5 separate regions of the Homo sapiens genome follow, and all the other regions are linked to region 4. Evidence: promoter capture Hi-C in 16 types of primary human blood cells and fetal thymus (Javierre and others, 2016). All regions are on one chromosome and are shown on one strand. The core of a region is centred on a gene start or on the middle of the fragment in contact, and the rest is flanking DNA. Distances in the headings are between cores, read along the strand shown.

Evidence for each region. The method cuts DNA at HindIII sites, captures the fragments that hold promoters and counts their contacts. A CHiCAGO score of 5 or more calls a contact.
Region 1: a contact is called between a fragment that was not itself captured here and the fragment with the promoter of LINC02453 in region 4, in 1 of 17 cell types (naive CD8 T cells). The highest score is 10.7, in naive CD8 T cells.
Region 2: a contact is called between a fragment that was not itself captured here and the fragment with the promoter of LINC02453 in region 4, in 1 of 17 cell types (naive CD8 T cells). The highest score is 6.7, in naive CD8 T cells.
Region 3: a fragment that was not itself captured here is called in contact with the fragment with the promoter of LINC02453 in region 4 in 5 of 17 cell types (total CD4 T cells, activated CD4 T cells, naive CD8 T cells and 2 more); the score reaches 10.2 in total CD4 T cells.
Region 5: a contact is called between a fragment that was not itself captured here and the fragment with the promoter of LINC02453 in region 4, in 1 of 17 cell types (total CD4 T cells). The highest score is 6.6, in total CD4 T cells.

What each region holds. Positions count from the first base shown.
Region 1 is chr12:96,927,724-96,930,423 of GRCh38, forward strand. All of the region lies in intron 6 of NEDD1 (NEDD1 gamma-tubulin ring complex targeting factor), which reads left to right. Among named protein-coding and RNA genes, the nearest start is that of NEDD1, 22 kb to the left of the region's middle. The HindIII fragment of the contact is 6,422 bases long and covers 1-2,700 here.
Region 2 is chr12:96,951,147-96,953,846 of GRCh38, forward strand. It overlaps NEDD1 (NEDD1 gamma-tubulin ring complex targeting factor), which reads left to right. Exons shown (of 16, transcript NM_152905.4): 15 at 286-352; 16 at 803-2,634. The coding sequence ends at 907. Among named protein-coding and RNA genes, the nearest start is that of NEDD1, 45 kb to the left of the region's middle. The HindIII fragment of the contact is 602 bases long and covers 1,150-1,751 here.
Region 3 is chr12:96,911,620-96,914,319 of GRCh38, forward strand. NEDD1 (NEDD1 gamma-tubulin ring complex targeting factor) reads left to right here. Exons shown (of 16, transcript NM_152905.4): 4 at 1,104-1,198. Among named protein-coding and RNA genes, the nearest start is that of NEDD1, 5.7 kb to the left of the region's middle. The HindIII fragment of the contact is 4,151 bases long and covers 1-2,700 here.
Region 4 is chr12:98,502,357-98,505,147 of GRCh38, forward strand. LINC02453 (long intergenic non-protein coding RNA 2453) reads right to left here and starts at 1,499. Exons shown (of 4, transcript NR_038383.1): 1 at 1,404-1,499; 2 at 227-256. TRD-GTC1-1 (tRNA-Asp (anticodon GTC) 1-1) reads left to right here and starts at 1,147; the gene lies at 1,147-1,218. TRW-CCA4-1 (tRNA-Trp (anticodon CCA) 4-1) reads left to right here and starts at 1,896; the gene lies at 1,896-1,967. RefSeq lists enhancers at 1,237-1,546, 1,557-1,856. The HindIII fragment of the contact is 12,452 bases long and covers 1-2,791 here.
Region 5 is chr12:96,992,344-96,995,043 of GRCh38, forward strand. No RefSeq gene overlaps it. Among named protein-coding and RNA genes, the nearest start is that of NEDD1, 86 kb to the left of the region's middle. The HindIII fragment of the contact is 268 bases long and covers 1,211-1,478 here.

The DNA of each region.
Region 1 (2,700 bases), core at 22-2,521, 1.6 Mb before region 4:
ATGGAGATCTGATAAATGTAAATATTAATTACATTTTTAGAAATAATAGTTTTCTCAAGAATGAATCTATTCTAAATTGGTTTATTTCATTGACTGGTTATATTTATACCAGAATTGCAGCACTCAAAAACTTTGACTACAAAGACTTTTTATCTAGAAGTGGTCTTTTTTATGTTATATAGGAGCATTGGTATAAAATGTTTATATGATAACATTTCTTTGATTCTCTATATATTTCTGTAGTATTGGTATACACTTGACTAGCCTATATAATATGTTCTTGAGCAATTTTATAATTGACATGTAGGCATAAAATAAATGGATAATCTGTATATTTCTTCTTAAAGACTTTTCTCCTTCTATTTTTCTCTTCTAAATTTTCTTCAGTAGAAAGCTATTTGAAAGATGTTTTCTAACAGTGTTTCTATGTATAGCTCTGTCTTCTGTCCATATAGTTATACTCATTCTGTTTGTCCAATCATGTTTTCTGCCTGTTCTCATTAGTGATCTACCCTGGGTATCCTCATATTATTAGTCTTCATAACCATAATTTTTAATGACTGGATGTATTTCATTATTCAATGCCATCATTTACCTAAAAATCCTCTATTGTTTTATTTTCCAAATTTTTATAATAAATGAGCACATGTTAATATTGTTTTCATAAGTATGTATCTTCTGATTTTTGATTCTTTTCTTTGAGAGTACAAGTTCTCTTTCAATGTAATTTAGTAGCAGGCTTACATTTCCTTTAAGGAGCTTAAGTGTTACCCTATTATCTTTGGTCTCAAATGTGTGACGTGATTTCATAGCTTTTGAAACCCTTTTAAGTCACTAGTTTTTTATTCCTAGGTTATTCAAAGGAATTTTTTTTTTCTTTAAAGCCACGTAATTTTTCTAGAATATGTCTTGATGTTGGTCATTATGTATTGCTATTGTTAGGTACATAGTGTGTTTCTTTTTTTTTTTTTTTTTTTTTTTGAGGCAGAGTTTCGCTCTGTCACCCAGGCTGGAGTGCAGTGGCACTGTCTGGGCTCACTGCAAGCTCCGCCTCCTGGGTTCACACCATTCTCCTGCCTCAGCCTCCCGAGTAGCTGCGACTACAGGCGCCTGCTACCACGCCTGGCTAATTTTTTGTAGTTTTTGTAGTAGAGATGGAGGTTTCACCACGTTGGCCAGGATGGTCTCGATCTCCTGACCTCGTGATCTGCCCGCCTCGGCCTCCCAAAGTGCTGGGATTACAGGCGTGAGCCACCACCCCCGGCCCATAGTGTGTTTCTTAATATGTAGTTTCAAGTCTTTTTTTATTTTTGGAAATTTTTCTTAAATTATAATTTTTAGTATTCTTTTTCTCTCTTTGGATTTTTTGTTGTTGCATTTTCTTTGCTTATCTTCAGTGGTTTATCATTTTTTCTCAAGTGTTTTTAAACTTTTTTGTTATTTCTTTTTGATTTTTAAAAATTTCTTTTTAACCTGTCTTTAAGGTATTGTCTGTTGTGTTTATTCATTTTTGAATTCCTTCTAAATTAGCCTTCATTTTTGAAGAGATTTAAAAAATTTCTAATTCTTTCCCAAGTTCTGACATCTCTTTTCTGAGTTTTAAATTTATGTTTTTTTTCTTAATGTCTTGTATTTTTTTTTTCCTTAATGTCTTGTATTTTTTTTTTCTTTCTGATCTTCTGTTGAGAACGTTTTTCTCCTTGTTCTCTTTGTTTTCATAAGTTTGTGTGGGATATATCTGTGAAATTAGTTTTAGCTTCCCTGAACTTCTAGACAAAAGGAGGTCAAAGTGGCTTTTCTAACTTCACAGAGCTCCCTATTGTTTTCATGTATACACACACACACACACACACACACACACACACACACACACACACATATGTGTATATATATATATATATTTTTTTTTTAATGGCTGCTTGCTTTCTGGGGTTCCCTGACTCTGCTCTACTTTTCCACCTGTCTGTGAACCTTTGTTGCCTCCATCCTGTTCAGGTTTGCTTCCACTTCTAGCAGATCTCCTCAGTGTGGGGCTCTGACCTGAGAGGGACACACTTTGGCTGGTCAGTTTTGGAATTCTCTGGCTAAACTGCTCTTGTCTTGACCTTCCTGCAAACCTGTAGCACAGACCTGTTAATGAAGTGGATATTCTGGGTTTTGACTGAGGTTGTAAAATTGGCCACCATGCTTTTCTGTGAATACCTTTTGGCTGTTATGGGCTGCTTCTGTTCTCAGATCTGTCACAGATTCCTTGTTATTCCTTCTACTTCCTTCTGCACAGACACCAGTACCATGAAGGACTTATGGCTGTTAATTGTTTGACCTCTCAGCATGTGTTTGGGGGTTCATGGGGATACCTCATCATCTAGTTTGTTGTAAATGTTGTCCGTGGGATTTTAGTTTTTGGTCATCTAGTTTATTATCTGTTGTAAAACACACACACACACACACACACACACACACACACACACACACACACACACACACACTCTCTCTCTCTCTCTCTCTCTCTCTCTCTCTCACACTCTCACATGCTGTGTTGGGGATTTCTAAGACCAGATTTGGTCATTCTCTAGGAGAACTCACAGGATTCTGTATATAGTCATACTCATGGCTATGATTTATTTTATAGTGAAAGAATACAAAGCAAAACCAGCAAAGAGAAAAGTGCATGGGGTGAAGGCCATAGGAAACCAGATG
Region 2 (2,700 bases), core at 201-2,700, 1.6 Mb before region 4:
TTGAACAAGTTATATCTACTCTGGTTAAGTTATTTCTTTTGTAAAATGGACCTGTAATAATTGCATCTACTTGTGAAGATATTTTAAACGAGTTCTTACATTTAAAGTAAAGGAAACAGTGCCTAGCACATAGTGAATAAATGCTCAGTGCATTGGTATTTTTATTATTATAGTAATTATTAACATTCAGTAATTTGGCAAATGAAAAAGTTTAGTGAGTTTCTTGAATGACCTAGAATTGGTTAAACTATTGTAATTCTAAAAAGTATTTTACATTCTTCCTAGAGAAGCATGCCATAGGGACATTGTGAATTTGCAAGTGGAGATGATTAAACAGTTTCATATGCAACTGGTATGTATGGCAAATTTTATTTTAATATTTTAAATGAAAGTAGAGTTGTGTGAATTTTTAAAAATCCATGAAAGGTAATATATTTTAGTTGTTTTGTTTAGTTTCTAAGATAAATAGGGAGTTTTATAGACTAAATAAGTAAAATAGATTTTAACTGGTCACCTCCTTTTTAACCTCTGAGATACTTAAGCCTTCTTTTTTCCATGGCTTTCTTCCTGATAAGTAAGCAAAAAGCATTTTAAATGTGCAAATATAAATTTTCCAAATATACTAATTTCACCAACGATCTTCCATTTATATTAACAAACTAGTAAGTTGTTAAGTACAAGAAATATCATTCACCTAGTTAATTGAACATGAGAGAAATGATAGCTGAAAGTATATTAAACATAGCCTGCCAAATAAATGTGAAATATCAATAATTTAAAAAGCATTTTCCTGTTTTTCTAGAATGAAATGCATTCTTTGCTGGAAAGATACTCAGTGAATGAAGGTTTAGTGGCTGAAATTGAAAGACTACGAGAAGAAAACAAAAGATTACGGGCCCACTTTTGAAATTTCAGTGAATACCTTAATGTTCTGTAATTTGGGAAGTTTCTGGCAACACAGAACTACATAGAATCAGTATTGTTTTCATGGCCTCCAGGGAAAAAATGTTTTTCAAGTAAGAGTAAAAGGATGATGGGATTTTATACCAACAACTGTTTCATCTTAAAAATATGTATATTTTTATATTAAAAATTGTACAGTATGTCATCTACCCAATAGGAAAGTCAACAGGATCTTTATTTTTTGAAAGCTTTAGCCATCCACTAAGTGCCCTTTTTCATAAGAGAAGAAAATTGTGCATAAAAATTGGTTATGTTTGTTTTTTAGTCATCTTTTTTAACATATATTTTTGATTGACAAATTGCCTTTCAAATTTTTGGGGCTAGTTGAGATTTAAAGAGTTTGATATGCCTTCTATTTTTATGGAGAAAGTAATTTTAAAATGGCAATTGGTGTTTCTAAGCCATTGACTAATAAAACATAGGGTTGGCTAGTAATTATTTTGTTAACTTGATGAAGTCAAGTATGACTATTATTTATTGTACATTTGATAAGACAATTTTTGGAATTTTGAATTGCACAAATTACATGATATCTTTTGCATTTATGTTACTATATTGTACTTCTGACAAATCTTTATTCCTGGGTGGTATTTTTAAGATATCTTTACCTATAAAAAATGTTTAAGGTTCATAGGACTCGACAAGAGCTATCTGGTGATTTTCTCATTAGTAACATGCAACGTTGTACTGCAAAATTTCAATCAACATGACAACTTATAATGAGTGGAGATTTCATATTAGGTACTAAATATTATAGTATTATTTCTATTTTCTTTTTCCAAATAAGAAGCTTGGATTATTTTATTTTGTGGTCTTTATCATTAACTTTAATTCTTTCTGTACTGTGTATAATATTTTTATATTATTGGCCTTACCATAAAATTATTTAGAAAGGTTGTCAAAATAAGTTATACCTCTTTGGCAATAGATAGATGTATACATCTACCTACTATGATCTACAATTTTAGGTTAAGTGAAGCTTGGGGGGGCTACTGACTTGGTTACCTTCTTGTCTCTTGTCCCAAAGATTTAAACTGTGTACCTTTGTATAGCTCTTCTGCCCCATTTTGACTTCTGAGATGAAAGTATTTACTAAAATTAAAAAAAAAAAAACAAAAAACAAACCTTTAGCTCACTAACTTTATGGGTTTCTGAAGTGATGGAAATTTTTAAGGATATATTTAATAAGCATAAACTTACTAATAATTACTTCCAAAAATAAAAACAGGAATATTACTTTTACCCAGTGTGGTTTATAGCATACATTTGTACTGAAGCATATAGGGATGTTAATGTGATCTTTTCCTGACAGATTATGAAAGCATTATGACTTGTAACAAGTTTCCTTGTATATCACTAACAGGTTTAGAAGACATAAATATTAGTGTGTTTTGCCTACATGGTGTATTTAAATCTATTAATATTTTCCTGTTGCTTTTTTAAAAAAATAAATACACATAATGTATATTAAAAGAGGTGGGATGAAATAATTTTAGTAATTATGTGTACAGATGAAACATTTTTGTCATGGAATTTAAAAGCTAAGTAAGTATAAAAAATAAAATGTTATATGCAAAAAATAGGAAACATGAAATTGAAATTTCATTGTTGGCCAAAATGATATGAGAGATTTACCTTCCCACCTGAAATTAAAAAAGAAAATATGTGAAACAGTTGTCAGATATTGATCCTTGAGAGAAACAAATGAGACCTAAGAAACTCAATGAACCTCAAACA
Region 3 (2,700 bases), core at 116-2,615, 1.6 Mb before region 4:
TCTAAAACTACAAGAGAAATAAAAAAGAACTAGATTACCCACCCACATTATGTTTCAGTCCTTTTTTTTCTATATTCTAAGGAGAAAAGTAGTGGTAAACAGGAAGAAGTCAAGGAAAGGGAAATGGTTTTTCTCGCTATGGTAATATCTAGGTAGGAATGATTTGATTTGCATCATGTATCATAATAAAATTACAGTCTATGCTCTGTTTACAAAATACCTGAAAGTTATACAGAACATTCAAAAGTTAATGCAGTTAGGGATTCTGAGTGTCTAATTAACCTTTCTCCATTGCTTTTACTCACAGATTTTAATTGCTAAAAAGCACAGATTTAAACTTCTGATATTTTAATTTGTTATGGCTCTCAAAATCAGACTCTTATTCTTAGTTATATTATTGTATTTAATCATTTTAGTTTTAAAATAGTTACTGTTTTGTGTTTACTGATTGTTCCATTTACAATTCGTGTAAAAGAAGGTAAATAAAATTACATTTTATTTAAAAATTAAAACTCATAACACAATTCCTATTTAACCATACATATTTATAAAATATTTGCAAGTTACTGTAATAGTCATTCTTAATTTAAGATTGAAACATTCTATCACAAAAATTCATGTTCTGGGAAAATATCAGGCCTTTTTTTTTTTTAAATAGAAAAATAGGAGACTAGTGTGGATGTTTGCTTCCTAGTTTAGATTGTTACCAAGCACTAGGTTAATAAATATCTTGAACAGTTTCTGTAGATGAAAAGGTTGATTGATATTTGCTGATGCTGCTTTTATCATGCTCTCATTCTTGAAGGATAAAATTAGCCCTTCTGGCCTACTCTTTGAAAACAGAGTAGTATTTCACGTGGGTTAAATAGCTTTTGAGTGATAGCAGAGCCAGAAAGAAGGCTAGTTCTTCCCTGCAGTAGTAGCAAAGAGAATTAGTCTTAGTAATTATTAATAGTAATGTGAGCCATTTTTGAAAGCTACTCTGTAAGCTATACTCATTGCTTGTCTTCTTAGTGTGTTAGCTTTTATAATCGCAATTCTTATAATAGTCTAGTGCTATAGATGTTCATGGATTGTTTGATGCTCCATAACTCCTCATTTAGATAACTTTTTAGTAACAGCATCTTCCAGTGGCGACAAAATAGTTGTCTCAAGTTGCAAATGTAAACCTGTTCCACTTTTAGAGCTTGCTGAAGGGGTAAGTGATTTTTTTTTTTTTTAAACTTTTAAAAATCTTAGTTTTGCTTGACTGGCAATTGCTTATTGTGGTGCTTGCGACTAAATATAAAGGTTTTTAAAAGCATTATTTTTAACTTAAGCTCAAAATAATATAGTAACACTTAAAAATGAGATATGTGTACTTACTAAAGTATTTTTAGGTAAAATAGTTTTGAATATAGGGGAACAATTGAAGACTTGAATTTTGTTGACTAGGCACTTCATTTCTCCATTTTCCCTCAGTGGGAGAGGATCTCTGTTGCTGCTATTTTAGGACGATATCCCACATAGGTTACTAGGTTGACCTGAGCATATAAACTCTAATGACACAGCACTGCTTTACTGATCTTGGGCTCAGGACCATCAGGAACAGACTCACAGCTGATGGTAGCTCTCTGCTTCAGATTCTGTCCACCTGTACTGAGGGGCCTGTCTGAGCCTCCCCCATACTCTCCTTAAACAGGTTGGCTTTGTCAAAATGAGCTTAGGTCCCAGGGCGTTTAAATGAAGCTCTCACTACGTACTGTTGCCTTATCCTTTTTTTTTTTTCTTTTGAGATGGAGTCTCGCTCTGTTGCCCAGGCTGGAGTGCAATGGTGCAATCTTAGCTCACTGCAACCTCCGCCTCCCCAGTTCAAGCGATTCTCCTGCCTCAGCCTCTCAAGTGGCAGGGATTACAGGTGCCCACCACCACGCCTGGCTAATTTTTGTATTTTTAGTAGAGACGGGGTTTCACCATGTTGGCCAGGCTGGTCTTGAACTCCTGACCTCATGATCCGCCCGCCTCAGCCTCCCAAAGTGCTGGGATTACAGGCATGAGCCACCACACCCAGCCTATCCTTTTGTTTTATAAGTTAATCCCTCTGATTAAGGATAATACTGGCTTCTTCATTTCTAGTCACACACTCTTTGAAAGCTATTTCTTTTTTAAATAAGATAAGATTTAAATAAAAAGATATGGTAGTTGATAGCTTTTTTTTTTAATTTCAAAGTTTTTCTAGCAGATCTTAAATTATTATGAATTGTCATAATTTTACACACTGGGATAGGTAAAGTAGCCCAATTAGAAAGAAAACAGCAGGACAACTGAATAAAAGCTCAACTAATTTAAAGAGGACTCATGATTTTTATCAATCCTCTCCTAAAGGTATCCAGTGGGATTGACCTGAACTTCAGTTCTAACCCACAGATGTTGGAGACTGGGACAGAGGGAACATGTGCTAACAGTAGAAATGGAGTTTGAGGCACTCTGTTTAACCTGACTTAAGCAGAATCAAGGCATAGAATGTCTCTGGTCGATAAAGGCAGACTGAAGTCTTCAAGAGCAGGCAAAACATCTTAACCATCTTTGGATCTTTGTATCCTAAGATGTTCAAAAAACTTGTTAATGTCAACATCAAAACAATTTCAACTTCTACTCTACCACTATATATATGTACTACTGTTATGCATTATGCCTTAGGATCAGTGAATCAGTATTTGG
Region 4 (2,791 bases), core at 249-2,748:
CCTGGGCAACAAGAGTGAAACTCCGTCTCAAAAAAAAAAGTTTACATATAAGGCTCTCTTAGTATCCCTGGGAAGAGGGTTCATCCTGTCTATGAACGGGTTTAGGATGACACAAATTATCAAATTATCCGATTAGTGCACTTTCCTAACCCATATGTTTAATCAGTGGCACATCCTGGTTTTGAATTATTTAAACGCATTATTATTTAGCCATTCACATACTTACGTTTGTCACTTCCAGTTAAACTGTAGCCACCTACAGAGAGCGAAACAGAAGTCGGCTGATAAAATTTTGATAAAATTTCATTTGCCCGCAGCTGGTCATTTCATTGGGCGCTTTTGTGTTACAAAAGTGTGTGAATTGGCCGGGCGCGGTGGCTCACGCCTGTAAATCCCAGCACTTTGGGAGGCCGAGGCAGGTGGATCACTAAAGGTCACGAGTTCGAGACCAGTCTGGCCAACATGGTGAACCCTCCCCCCCCCCACACACACACACACACCCCGCGTCTCTAGTAAAATACAAAAATTAGCCAGGCATGGTGGTGCGCGCCTGTAATCCCAGCCACTCGAGAGGCTGAGGCGGGAGAATCACTTGAGCCTTGGAGGTGGAGGTTGTAGTGAGCCCAGATCGCAACACTGCACTCCAGCCTAGGGGACAGAGCGAGACTTCCTCTCAAAAAAAAAAGACTTATGAATTGTTTGAAGAGGCACGAGACCGTGGCAACCCTAACTGTCCCCGACATCTGGCAGCCATATGCTATCCTTGAACTTGAACTTCAGAGTGAAAGTATAAATTTGTAAGGGGAAGGCTCAGCCGCAAGTCACATACCAGTGGTCAGTTAAAAAAAAAAAACTCAGGACGGCAACCTAAATCATTTAGAACGCGTCAAGAGCCTCGGAAAAACTATTTTCACACACTTCTCTAGCACTAACATGGGAAGCGCGTTTCCTTCACATATTCCACACCTTTTATTCTTCCCACCAACATCAAGAATACAAAGCGCCCAGAGAGGACAATAAGCCTAAGCAGCGGCTCCAAGAGACCGGACTTTCGTACTTCCCGGGGGCAGGCGGAAGGTTACGGAGCGCTGGAAGGATCTTACTGCTCCTTGAAGGGCTGTCTGAGAAAATACACAGCCTAACGACTCCTCGTTAGTATAGTGGTTAGTATCCCCGCCTGTCACGCGGGAGACCGGGGTTCAATTCCCCGACGGGGAGGTGTGTAGCTGCACTTTTTTGGCGACAGTTATTATTTTCTGTATCATTCAATGACAGGACACTGCTGTTAAACATAATATGCTAAACCAGCTCCCTTAAGTGCACAACCCTGTCTTCAAAATGGTGACTTTTAACCTTAATGCCCACCATGAAGTGAAAGCCTCCCCTGAGAGAAAATGCCTTACATTGTTTGCAGGAAGGGAGGAAAGGGAAAAAGAAAACGCTCTGAAGGCCTCTGCCCTTGCCTCCAGCCGCCATCTTGCGAAGGCCTGCGCCGGCTTAGTGGCGCCCCGCCAGATTACAACTCGAGGTCGCGAACTCAGCGCGCGGAACCTGTTGGGGGAGGGGAGAGAGGGCGGAGTCTCGCGACTAACGGGGCGGGGGCAGGGCGGGTAAGAACGGAAATCATTTGGTAAAGAAAAGGAAGGGCCAATTTCCTTTGATCCTGGAGACCCGACTAAACGGGAAGCCCCGTTCTCCCGCTTCCGCTGGTTACGTCCCAGCCTTGGTTAGAGGACTAGCAGTCAGGAAAGTTTGGACGCTGAAGGAATCGGTCTCCTGGTCCGACAGATACTGGGTGGAGGGGCAGAGAGTAAATGGAAGAGAAAGACTGGTACCCCTGGAAGAAACGCCATTTACTGGTGTCCTAAGAAACTGCGCGAGCCACAGCCCAGCAGGACCTCGTGGCGCAACGGTAGCGCGTCTGACTCCAGATCAGAAGGCTGCGTGTTCGAATCACGTCGGGGTCAAACTTTTTTTTTTTCCTCCTGTATTTTAAACTACCGACTACTAGAAGCCGAGGTGTATTCCTGCCGCCAATTTTCTTGAATGTTAGAATTAAGTTTTCCTCTTTCAGGTATTATGATACTAATCCTTGGTTTGCAGGAAGATATGATTTACTCTATATCGAAGAGCCTCAAGGCTGATGTTTTTATCATTTGGCCTTTTAAAGTGAGTTTTTTTGTCACTTAACATGCATAATGTGTAAAGAGGTGGACTATTACTGCTGTGCATTAGTGGGTGTATCAGTCCACTAGTCTATCACAGGAAGTGTACAATATACTGTACAAGCTGTTTTTTCCAAACAGTTTTAGGCTGTTTGCCTTTTGAAAGAGAGTACAATAGTGTACAATTTCTAATTTTGAATATTATGCTAATCAAGTGTCTTAGCCCTTACCATGTGCCAACACTGTGAACAACCTCACAATGTGTGACTATTATCCCACTTTTACAAATGTGGCTGTGGCTCACAGGGTTAGTGACCTGCCAAGGGTCACCCAAGATTCTGAACCAGGTGAGGGACTCTGGATCCCTCTTTATAAATACTTTATAATAAAGGTGGAAACAAACAGTTGAAAGAATGTGTGACTGCCAGGCTCAGTGGCTTACACCTGTAATCCTAGCACTTTGGAAGGCCAAAGTGGGTGGATCACGAGGTCAGGAGTTCAAGACCAGCCTGACCAACATGGTGAAACCCCATTTCTACTGAAAATACAAAAATTAGCTGGGCATGGTGGGGTGCACCTGTAATCCCAGCTACTCCGGAGGCTGAGGCAGAAGAATTGATTGAACC
Region 5 (2,700 bases), core at 95-2,594, 1.5 Mb before region 4:
TTTTTTTTTTCTGTTCTCTGAATACACAGGCTAAAAAACCATAATCTTTTTCAGCTTTCTACTTACCAATATTGAAATGCACAGCAAGCGCTAATTCCTCTATCTTTTGGAAACAATATCCCAGTTTCTGTTTTGGAAACTAATCCATCTTTTCTTTGTGTTATAGGGTTGTATATCAAGGTACCTGGCCTTTTGTAAGCCATGAGGTGGGCAGTTGTTGATTAAATCTAAGCCAGTGGTTCTCACCTGGGGGTAATTTTGCCTACTAGTGGACACTGGGCAAAGTCTAGAGACATTCTGTCTCAGCTAGTGGGGGTGCTATTGGCATCTAGTGTGTAGAGGCCAGGGGTGCCACTCAATACCCTACAATGCACAGGACAGCCACCCCCACCCCCCGCCACCCACCACAAGGAATTTTCTAGTCCAAAATGTCAGTAGTGCCAACAGGACCTTCTCCTCTGGAATTCAGAAATTTCAATGATATGATATAAGCGACAAACTCAAAAAATGACTTGACTTATTTATTTGAGTAGCAATGCCTAGTTAAGACTGTCAAGTTGGGCCTGATAGCTAGACCTCCTCAGACCTTTCTTCATTCCTACTTTTGTGTGTGCTGGGGTCTTCAGTCTTTCAATCTATTCTCCACTTTACTCGCTTTTGATACAGTCTTTTTTCCCTTTGATTATCCAGGGATATTTTCTGTTGCTTGCAATCAAAGAACTCTAAAGTGATGTGGAATAACCGGCAGTTGGTTAACATACATGTGTCAACTGGCACCTTCTAAGTAGACAGTACCTTACAAATCCTAAATATGGTTCTTATGTAGCTTTCTGGTGGTTGAGGGTCAAATTAGAGCAAGCAGAAGCAGTAGAAAAGAAATCCACATACATATTTGGTTTCTTGCCTTGACCTCCAGGGACCTAAGGCAAGCAACCACTGCAATAATGAGCAGAATCAATAAAGCAAATGATTGCCTGATAATTCACTCCAAAGCAAGGAAATAAAACATTTTCCAAGCTGGTAGGGCATCAGTGGCTGCAGATCAAGTGAAAATCCTGAAGAGCAAGATTAAAAAAAAAAATAAAGTGACTTACCATCTTTTTAACAATGTCTGCCTTTGACCTCCTTGGGCTGTTTTGCACAATATCTAAGCTACGGGCTGCAGATAAATAATTTCTTTTCTTTTAAAAAAGTAATTATTCTCATTTTAAGCTTCATTTTAAAATAATGAAAGCATAGATGATAGTACCTTACTCACAGGCATAGAAGTTTTCTTTAAAGATTTTTAAACTCAGGGCTGACACTGAGCTTGGCGCTGTATTTTATTAAACAGGAGAACCTTTTTTCAAATTAAGATGATCCAGTGAACATATCATTTGATTGCCACAGCTAGAATAGGGACTGTACGCAGCTACTTGCGTCTGTTTAGCTGTTGGAGACCTTGGGGGCTGCCTTGTAAAAAGACCTGTTTTGTTGGAAGCTTTTCTTTCACTAAGTGCATGGATTGGAATATGTTAAACTGTTCTTCAGTGAACAAAATCATAAAAATATGTGAGCATACAAATAGAGGATTCGTGTTTGAGATCTCATGAGGTTCATTGTACTTCCAAGACAGGCTTTCTTTTTTTTAAGGTGCCAGCAAAATGCCACGGTATTTTATTTTTGTCTCCGGTAAATTGCTCTGGAAACTTAAACAAATTAAACATCCTGTTTTGTGTTTCCGAGACTCACTGGGGAAACTCAGTCTCTTTAGTCTGAAGTTTCAGGAGGGAAGGAACATCAGAATATAAGATATTGTTTATAATCACCTTTTTGAAATGGTTATGCCTATGCTGGCGTGAAGGGAGGTACATGGGCCATTCAGTATCATCTCAAAGAAGCAGTTCTGTTTATTATCTAAAGAAAAAGAAAACAAATGTGAAGTTTTTAGAGGTGTAAGAGTGTGTGTGTGTGCGTGTGTGTGTTCTGTTACGCTGTACAATGCAAAATCTGTTCTGTTACTGTTCATATTTTAGAAATTGATTTTTAATATAATAGTTATACTCAGTTAAAATCCATTGTTCAAGCCATTTTGAGACAAATTTAAAAGTAAATCTTCATAAAGGAATAATTAATGATCATCATTCCAACCAAGGCAACATGACAGAAATTAACAACTAAAACTTAGCAGTTGCCTTTGGAATTTAATGGGGTTCTGTCTTTCTTGAGTTCCCAATTACTGAAAAATATTTTCCTCCATTGCCCATGTTGGTTAAATGGAAACAACTACCCTTCCCTCCCCAACATTCAATGGATTTTTCTGGATCACAGTATTGCTTCCCTTTGATTCCTTCCTGCTTAGAAGAATGAAACAGTCTGGAAGGCCGGACAGCTGGGCTTGTGCCCCTCGACCTGAGGGGTAAAATTAGCTTAAGTGGCTAATTTTAGTGCTTCCTGCTTTCAATGGGGTCTTCTTGACAATAGGAACTGTCTGGCTTGGTTGCTTTTCATGAAAACATCTTAACCTTCCAGCTTGCCCCCACCTGCTTGAACTCTCAGTTGAAATATTACATTTAAAGGCCAAACAGAACCCAAATGAATGGATGATAGCAGCACCTTTCAAATGTCACTTAAAAAAAATCTATGAACTGAAAGCTCAAGTCCTTTGGGAAGGAACAGAAATGAACTAACTGTCACCTTTCTCCTCCCTCCTCCCTCTGC